Regions from separate parts of the Homo sapiens genome. Here region 2 is linked to region 1. Evidence: promoter capture Hi-C in human tissues and cell types (Jung and others, 2019). All regions are on one chromosome and are shown on one strand. The core of a region is centred on a gene start or on the middle of the fragment in contact, and the rest is flanking DNA. Distances in the headings are between cores, read along the strand shown. Region 1 holds the start of GSTM4 (glutathione S-transferase mu 4). Region 2 has its middle 34 kb from the start of CSF1.

Region 1 (2,500 bases), core at 1-2,500:
TGGGGAGAGGAGATGCAGTCAGAGACACGTCGCACTTTCCCCCAAAACCGCCCCTTCCCCTGCACCTACATTGGGAAAGTCCAGGCCCAGCTTGAATTTTTCATTCAGCCACTGGCTTCTGTCATAGTCAGGAGCTGCCGTGGGGAAGAAGAAGTGAAAACAAACCTCCCCAGAGCCCAGCCCTCCTTCCCGGGGACCCTCCCAAGGAACCAGTGGCAAGATCCCTGAGACAGGTGGATCTAGAATCTGACCACTCAGTCCCACATCCCAGGGTTCAGGGACAAAGAATCCCGCTGAGGGCTCTGGACCCCACACGGCTAAGGCTTCCAGGGTTTAGGGAAGCTCTGAGGGACACCCAACCCAATTAAACAGGGGGCCCAGCATCCCGCCCCAGCATTCTGCCTTGCAAGGCCACAGGACTCCCTCACCGGGGCTCAGGGAAGGGACAGCCTGCAGCTCCAGCAGGGGAGGCCTGCAGAGGTAGCCACAGGTGGCCACCATGGGTTGCTTGGTGCCAACTCAGCGTGAGTGGGCAGAGCCCGGACACAAGGGTGTCATTACCGTCCCCCATCGTATACTTCTTTTCCTCGTAGCTTGAGTCTGTGTATTCCAGGAGCAGGCGGATGGCGTGGGCCAGCTGGAAGAGATGGCCCGCAGGTCGTGTCAGAGATGGAGGGTCCCTGACTTGGTGACTTTCTCTGCACCAGGTGAGCCCCTAGTCTACACTGCACTGCACCCCCCCCCCACCCCGGCGCACGCACACACACACACACACACACACACACACACACACACACAGGCATGCACAGGCCCTCCTGTGAGAGATAGCCCTAAGGAGGGAACCGTCCCTAGAGCCGGTCCCCAGCCGCTCGGCACTTCCCGCCCACGCGCCCGGTCCCACAGTGCAGCGGACCCTCACTCACCCCGCGGATGTCCCAGTACCCCAGTGTCATGGACATGATGCTGGTTGGTGTCGATTCTGCAGACAGGCCTCAGCTGGGCTGAACTGCGACCTCCTCTGGGGTTCCCGGCACGCAGGGGCTGGACCTAGCGCCAGACCCGCCCCCTCGGCCCCGCTGCGCCCGCCGATCTTCAAGGTCGTCACTTCCAACCGGCCGATCTTCAAGGTCGTCACTTCCAACCAACAGGCGCGGGAGGCACGGAGCAGGTTGCTGGATCCTCACTGGCTGGAAGGAGTAAGATCCACCGCCACCTCCGAGTGTTCAGGGAGCAAGGTCCGGAAGCACTAGGAGGGGCTCGGCCTCGCCAGCTTCCGTAGCCCCGCCCCGCCCCGCTCCGCTTCGGACCTCTGCTGGGTCCCCAGGGACTCGGCTGTGCGCGTGAGAGTAAAGCCAGATCGTAAGAGAAAAGTTCTTCCCCCGTTTCTTCTTCTCCGGACGTCGCCCAGCCTTCTGCCTCTCGGCTGCCGAGTTCCCACAGGCTCTGGGAGACTGAGGCTGCCAGGGTCAGACTAAAGAGAGGTCTCAGAGAGTTTAATTCAACACTTCTTGGCTACTAAGTCTTAGAAGTCTGATGGTGTGCTCTCTCTGCTGAGTTGGGGAGCGTGAATGGAGGCTATGTCACCGAAGCTGATAGAGCTCAGTCTCTGTTGCAGATGCTCCCGACCCTTTTGCATTGGGCCAGTTCCCCAGCTCTGAGACTGGGTCCAGGCTCAGGAAGTGGCCTATGTGTCAAGGTGGATTCCCATGTAGGTTTGCCTACAGCAAGACGATAGCACCATGCACACACAAGTGCTTGGACTTCTGAATAGTTATACTTCTCATTATACATTAAGACATTAAGAATGTGTCATTCTGAGTCTTTTTTTTTTTTTTTTTTTTGGAACGGGGACTCGCTGTGTTGCCCAGGCTGGAGTGCAGTAGGGCGATCTCGGTTCATTGCAACCTCCGCCTCCCGGGCTCAAGCGATTCTCCTGCCTCAGCCTCCCGAGCAGCTGGGATTACAGACGAGCGCCACGACGCCCTGCTAACTTTTTTGTATTTTCTGTAGAGATGGGATTTCACCGTGTTGACCAGACTGGTCTTGAACTCCTGGTCTCAAGTGATCCACCCGCCTCCGCCTCCCAAAGTGCTGGGATTACAGGCATGAGCCACGGTGCCTGGCCTGTCATTCTGAGTTTATCCATCTTGAGCTGGGAAAGATAAAATGTCTAGGTCCAATTGTGAAGATGATTTTTTAAGAAAGCTAACACTTATGAGAATAATTATGAAAGAAACAGAATTGATATTGTTACATTAGTATTCACCCATTTGGTCATTCCTTTATTGAAACAACAGTTGTTGAGATCCTACCATATTCCAGGCACTGGGAATAAAACAATCCTTCAAAAACACTGTACTTTGGCCACCTACGACTAGAAGTCAGGTGGGAACTACAGGGGAGAGATTTTGAAAATACGGGACACTTCTTACTGTTTTTGCACACTGAGAGGCAGTGGAGTGGGAGAGGGGTTGAGTGTAGGAGAGAGAAGCGGTGCCTG
Region 2 (6,811 bases), core at 2,267-4,766, 290 kb before region 1:
TGAGGCTTGAAGTAACGATTTCATTTCACTTCATGGACGCTATTAACTCGGCCTCATGGACACACTTGTCCTGCAGTAAGATGAAGAGAGGAGGGTGCCCAGGCAGGCAGGACTGAAAGGTTCAGTTTCATTAGGAACTGGGTGCCCAAAGGAGGAAGCTGTAAGCCACGCTCCTGGAAAGTAGAGAACTTCGCAGGGAGCATGGGACCAGGGAGGAAGTGCCTTCTAAGGCTGCAGGAGTGGCAGGCCTTGGGACGGGAAAATTCCAGAGTAAAGATCCATTGTGAGGGAATTTCGCCTGTGTGAACCCAGAGCCTTCTGTAAATGCCACGGGATGCCTGAAAGTTCTAAACAGGAAACATGGCAAGACGGAGAGGAGCTACAATTTATTTGTCCAACTCATAATGCAGGTAAACAGGAAGATGAGATGTTTTGCCTACCTGCATGCCATGCCAGACTGCCTGGGTTTGAATTCTTTTTTTTTTTTTTTTTTTTTTTTTTTTTTAGATGTAGTCTCACTCTGTCACCCAGGCTCAAGTGCAGTGGCATGATCTTGGCTCACTGCAACCTCCATCTCCTGGATTCAAGCAATTCCCCCTGCCTCAGCTTCCCGCGTAGCTGGGATTACGGGTGTGCACCACCATGCCCACCTAATTTTTGGATTTTTAGTAGAGAAGGGGTTTCACTACGTTGGCCAGACTGGTCTGGAACTCCTGACCTCAGGTGATCCACCCGCCTTGGCCTCCCAAAGTGCTGGGATTACAGGTGTGAGCCACCACACCCAGCCCTGGCTTTGAATTTTGACTCTACCATTTATTAGCTGTGTGACCTTGGGCAAGTCACTTACACGCCTGTGGCTCAGTTTAACAACAGCACCTTCCTCTTAGGGATGCAGTGAGGTTTAGGTGCAACAAAACAGGGAAAGCTCCCACATTGGGATTCTCATTAACTGCAAGCTCCTATCATTATTTTGTACTAAGGTTATCTTGCCATGCAGCAAAGTGCCTGGGAGCACAGCTCAGAGAATAAGAAAGTTTGGATCAGATAGAAGCATCAGGAATTTATAACCAAGAGCTACCCAAAACAGTGAGGATCTGGGAGGAGGAAGAAAGAAAGCCTTCAAGTTATTTACACTGGAGATGCTAGGCTGGCGTGGGAAGGTTGGATGCCCTAAGCCTTCAGGTCTCAGTTGGGCTACCAGGCAGGTTTCTCCCCTCACCAGAGGCCGTCTCACAGTCAGCCTTGGGACCCTGGCTAGAGGCAGTTCTCCTTGAATTGCTTCGAGTGAGGCAGGACTGGTCCCAAATGGAGTCATGGGGTCATTGGGCACTAGACCACGGGTGCCTTGAAGACCTCACTGTGTGAGAGACAGATTGAGAAACACATCCAAGAATTTAGGAAGTAGATAGTGCTTTTTTTTTTTTCTTCCTGCTGATTGCCTGCCCATTGGTTGAGAGTGGGTAGTGTCAAAATTAAATCCTGATGCTTGTGCATTTTCCCTGGGAAAAGTTACAGATTTCGCTGGCTGAGGCAGTGGATGGGCGGGCAAGTGCAGGGACTAAGTGAAGGGGTCTGGAGGAGGGAAGAAATGTCTTCAGGGCATTTTTCGGAAGCTTTGCTGTGCAATGTGTTGTATAATCTTCTCCTCTATGTCCCAAGATAATTGTGCTAAAGACTGACATTTATTTTAAGGCTTTAAAAAAAAAGTTAGCTTTAGATTTCTTTGGAATGTTGTGCTGTGATGCTCCCTAAGGCACAAGCAATAGAAGTCTGTAAGTATGGGATTGTTCATTCACACAATCATTATTTATTAAGCACCTACTGTATCTGAGGAGCCATGTTAGGAGACGAGAATAGAGAGGTAGATAAGGTACAGTCTTAGTCTTCAAGTTGCTCACAGTGTACTGGAGATACAGATAAATATACAAATAATAGGTAAATTGTTGGTGTAATAATAATTGCGGTAGGCTGAATAATGTCTCCCAAACAGATCCAGGTCCTCGTGTCTGGAAACTAGGAATGCCATCTTACCCAGGTGGGCCCTAAAGGTGATCAGAAGAGTCCTTATAAGAGGAAGGCAGGGGGAGATCTCCCCACAGAAGAGAAGGCAATGTGATGGCAGAAGCTGCAATTGGTGTGATGAGCGTTGAAGACGGAGGAAGGGAGCGCACACCAAGGAATGCAGGAGGCCTCTAGAAGCTGAAAAAGTCAAAGAAACAGATTCCCCCTCAGAGTGTCTGGAAGGAACCAGCCCGACCCACACCTCGACTCTGGCCCACTGAGACCAATTTCAGACTTCTGAACTCCAGATATTTAAGATAATAAATTGAATCAATTTGTGGGGGTTTTTTGTTTGTTTTTGAGACAGGGTCTCACTTTGTTGCCCAGGCTGGAGTGCAATGGTGCCATATTGGATCATGGCAACCTCTGCCTCCCTGGTTCAAGCAATTCTTCTGCCTCAGCCTCCTGAGTAGCTGGGATTACAGGTCTGAGCCATCACGCCCGGCTAATTTTTGTATTTTTAGTAGAGACCAGGTTTTACCATGTTGGCCAGGCTGGCCTAGAACTGCTGACCTCAAGTGATTCACCCACCTTGACCTCCCAAAGTGCTGGGACTACAGGTGTGAGCCACCACACCCGGCCAAATTTGTGTTGTTTTAAGTGACTAAGTTTGCAGCAATTAGTTATATCGGCAATAGGAAACTAATACATTAGTGTTTAGTGAAAGAAGAGGCACAGAATGGAATGGACATCCTGACAATTGCCCTGCAGATATGCAGCTCATCCAGGTGTCAGAAGGGAATACAGAGAAGTGGTGCTATTGACTCTTGCCATAAAGGAATCTGGGAAGGACGTAAAGAACATCTTTACCTAGCACTGTGAGGTGTGGAGAGGTGAAGGGATTGGCCAGGGTCATACATATTCATTTACTGAGCATCTGCTCTGAACCAGCTCCTGTGTTGGTTTTGATGGGATATGAAAATAATTAAGGCAGGGTTCTTGCCCTCAAGGAACTTCCAGTCCAGCAGGGGAGAGCTAGCATAAAAGCTCTGGGTTATCATGACTTTGGACCAGTTATTTAACCTCTTTGGGTTTAGGTCCTTCTATGTAAACGATAGAAAGAGCTGCTTCACCAGATGTGAGGACCAAGTGATAAAATATATGCCAACTTGCTTTGTAATCTGTAAAGCATTATAGAAATAAAAGGTGTTATTGTAATTAGGTATAAGAAAAACAAGACACTCACTTAAGTAGCTTGAAGGCATATGAGGAAGACATAAAAAAACCACAAGACACTCACTTAAGTAGCTTGAAGGCATATGAGAAAGACATAAAAGACATACTGGAGATTCAGATGGAGTGACCGAAGAGATGAACTCAGCTAGCAGGATCAACACAGCTTTCTAGAGGAAGGACATTTTAGCAGGTTGTGGTGGGACAGGAAGTAGATGTGAGAAGGGGAAGGGGAGCGAGAGCCCAAGGAAGGGCAAGGAGGAAGAACATTTACTAGATGTGAATGTGAATGTGAGTGGCTGGAGATGAGGTTAAACGGTTAAATGATAGATTGGGCCCTGATTGTGAAGGGATAACCTGCGTCCTTTGTAGGTGACTTGAACCTCTAGATGATGAGGAATTTCAGTGGTGGGGAAGTTGGCACCTTCATAGGGCTAAATCTTAACTTTTCCATAAGCCCTTCTTAATCTTGCTTCCACCACCTCATCCCAGCTCCTCATTAAGGTGTCCAGAGCAGAACCCAGGTTGTGTGGCTCCAATCGCTGCTCCTTTCTCCATCAGTTCTATTTCAACACAAGGCAGAGTTAGGAGCTGAAACTTGTTCGTGTTTTTTTTCCCTTTAAAAAATACTGTTGGAGTTTTTTTGTTTTGTTTTTGTTTTTTGTTTTAGAAAATTACTCATTGTTGGCCAGCGCGGCGGCTCATGCCTGCAATCCCAGCACTTTGGGAGGCCGAGGCGGATGGATCACCTGAGTTCAGGAGTCTGAGACCAGCCTGGCCAACAAGGTGAAACCCTGTCTCTACTAAAAATACAAAAATTAGCCAGGTGTGGTGGTGGGTGCCTGTAATCCCTGCTACTCTGGAGGCTGAGGCAGGAGAATCGCTTGAACCAGGGAGGTGAAGGTCGCAGTAAGCTGAGACTGCGCCATTGCACTCCAGCATGGGCAACAAGAGCGAAACTCCGTCTCAAAAAAAAAAAAAAAGGAAAACAAAAAGAAAATTGCTAATTGTTAAATCATGCAAAGGATGAAGACAATAGTTTCTGGGACAGATGAGCATTCACTGTGAGCCAAAAAGCCAAATGCTGTTTAAAGTACATTCTACTTGGACCTCTGCTGATATTCTCATATCGAATAACATTGTGCTGAAAAATTGGTGGAGAATACTTGCACTAGAACAAAAATTCTGGTTCAGGGTTTGGTTCTTGGTTAAAAAATAAACTATGGGAGGCCCAGGCGGGCGAATCACGAGGTCAGGAGATCGGGACCACCCTGGTTAACATGGTGAAACTCCATAAAAAATTAGCCAGGCATGGTGGCGGGGGCTTGTAGTCCCATCTACTTAGGAGGCTGAGGCAGGAGAATGGTGTGAACCTGGGAGGTGGAGCTTGCAGTGAGCTGAGATTGCGCCACTGCACTCCAGCCTGGGCGACACAGCAAGACTCCATCTCAAAAAATAAATAAATAAAATAAAATAAAAATAAAAAATAAAAAAGGGGAATAATTGTTCTGGAAGTTGTATTCGTCTTCTCTTTCCATTTTGCTCTTATCAGCTCTACAGACGTTAACTGAGCGCCTTCTCTCTGCTGGTCTGTGTGGTGGGTGGTAGGCAGGCCCTGTGAATGGAGTTCCAGTCTGGTGATGAGGGAGTGTCAGATGACGTTCATCTACCTCAGTATTTGAGCTTTTAACTCAAAGAGTTATGACTTTTAAGGAAGATTCTAAAGCCCACTTAAATTGTCTCCTCCTCTATGTATTCTTCCCTGATAATTTGCTAGAAGGACTCTCTCTTTCTCTTTTTCTGTCCCTCGGCCTCACTCCCTTCTCCATACCCTTTCCTCTAGGTAGGAGTAATCTTTTATTCTACATCTCCCAAGACAGTTAAGATTTCAAATATTTTACCCCACAATCCCTACATTACAGTGACATGCAAATGTTTTGACAACCGAGCAACAGCTTCTGAAATACCTGTGTCTCCCAAATGATAAAAACTACAACTTGGATGGTGCCATTTTCCAGGACAGTTTAGAAGTAAAAACTGTGCTATTATCACCCTCAATTTACAGATGAGGAAACTGAGTCACAGAGAGATTAAATTATTTACCCAAGGTCACTTCGGTCAGATCTTGTGGCTCAATTTTTGGCTCAGAATATTTGGTTCCCAGAACTGCTTATCATCTCTCTCCCAGTCCTGAGACACATGAACTCTCTTTCCTCCCTGGCCTTGTCTGAAAGCTTTGAATTCACAAAACATAGAAGGTAAAAGAGTAAAAAGCTGTCTACAAAGAATCGTAATGACATGGAAAAATGTTCATGATTATGACATTATGTGAAAAATCAATACTGTACATTCATTATGATATCAACTATGTAAAGATATAAACATACTATTAAAATACTAGAAGGAAATACAACAGAATGTTGACAGTAGTTATTCCTGAACGGTGGGGTTAAGAGTGATTTTTTTTTTTTTTTTGAGACGGAGTCTCACTCTGTCACCCAGGCTGGAGTTCAGTGGCACAATCTCAGCTCACTGCAACCTCCGCCTCCCAGGTTCAAGTAATTCTTGTGCCTCAGCCTCCCAAGTAGCTGGGATTATAGGCATGTACCAGCACACCCGGTTGATTTTTGTATTTTTAGTAGAGATGGGGTTTCACCATGTTGGCCAGGCTGGTCTCCAACTCCTGACCTCAGGTGATCCACCCACCTTGGCCTCCCAAAGTGCTGGGATTACAGGCGTGAGCCACCGCGCCCAACCAAGAGTGATTTTTATATTCCTATTTATAGTTTTCTGTATTTTCCTATTTATCTATTATCAGCTCATGCTAACTTTATAAAAAGAAAAAAAGTTTTAAAATAAATCATCCACTTAAAGGAAGACATGAACACCATAGAAGAGACTGGTTGATTGAATGGTCGTCCTAGTGATCTGTGGTCTCCCAAGGGTGGAGCGGCATGATGAGTAGATTTGTGTATGTGACACATTGCTGCAATTAGATGGTCTATATGTGGGGATATAGATTTAAATTAGTACTTATGAATGAGGAAACAAAAAATGTCTCTTCTTAGAGTTTAAATGGTTTATAGAATTTGGAGGAAACCAGTCCAGAAAAGATTAGAGTGTCAGAGCTGGAAAGGGGCTTCAGAGATCCTAAAATCTAATCCTCTTTTCTTACAGATCAGTATCTGATGCCTCCTTTGTTCAGGGTATTGATGTAAGTTAACATCGACCAGGAAGGAGAAGAAGTTTGAAATCAGAAATGGAAATCTCACATCTTCCTCTGTCCTGGTCAAATTTCAAGTCTGGCCTTGCTGTCCTGGTGGCAGGACCCTTGGGCATGCCTCCCATAGCTGCTACACTAGTCTAGCCCTGCTGGAGATCTTTGCTGCTAGAGGGATCGCGCCTCTGTGGCTGTGTGAGTGATTTGGTCTCATGGTGAACGATTTGACAGAGGGCACAGGGCAGTGAGACTGGGCTTTCTGAAGACTCAAGTCTACCGGCCAGACCAGCTGAACCAAAGGATCTTCTCTCTTGGCCTTCCTAATGAACCCTTCTCCACTCTTGCCAGGCTCCCGTG

What was found. Contacts are between HindIII fragments. The study calls those that stand out against the background at their distance.
Region 2: a contact is called between a fragment that was not itself captured here and the fragment with the promoter of GSTM4 in region 1, in 1 of the 25 tissues and cell types used here (mesenchymal stem cells).

The regions. Positions count from the first base shown.
Region 1 is chr1:109,654,849-109,657,348 of GRCh38, reverse strand. It overlaps GSTM4 (glutathione S-transferase mu 4), which reads right to left and starts at 1,250. Exons shown (of 8, transcript NM_000850.5): 1 at 924-1,250; 2 at 562-637; 3 at 70-134. The coding sequence starts at 959. RefSeq lists enhancers at 24-609, 1,483-1,532. The HindIII fragment of the contact is 7,232 bases long and covers 1-2,500 here.
Region 2 is chr1:109,941,245-109,948,055 of GRCh38, reverse strand. No RefSeq gene overlaps it. Among named protein-coding and RNA genes, the nearest start is that of CSF1, 34 kb to the right of the region's middle. The HindIII fragment of the contact is 5,826 bases long and covers 604-6,429 here.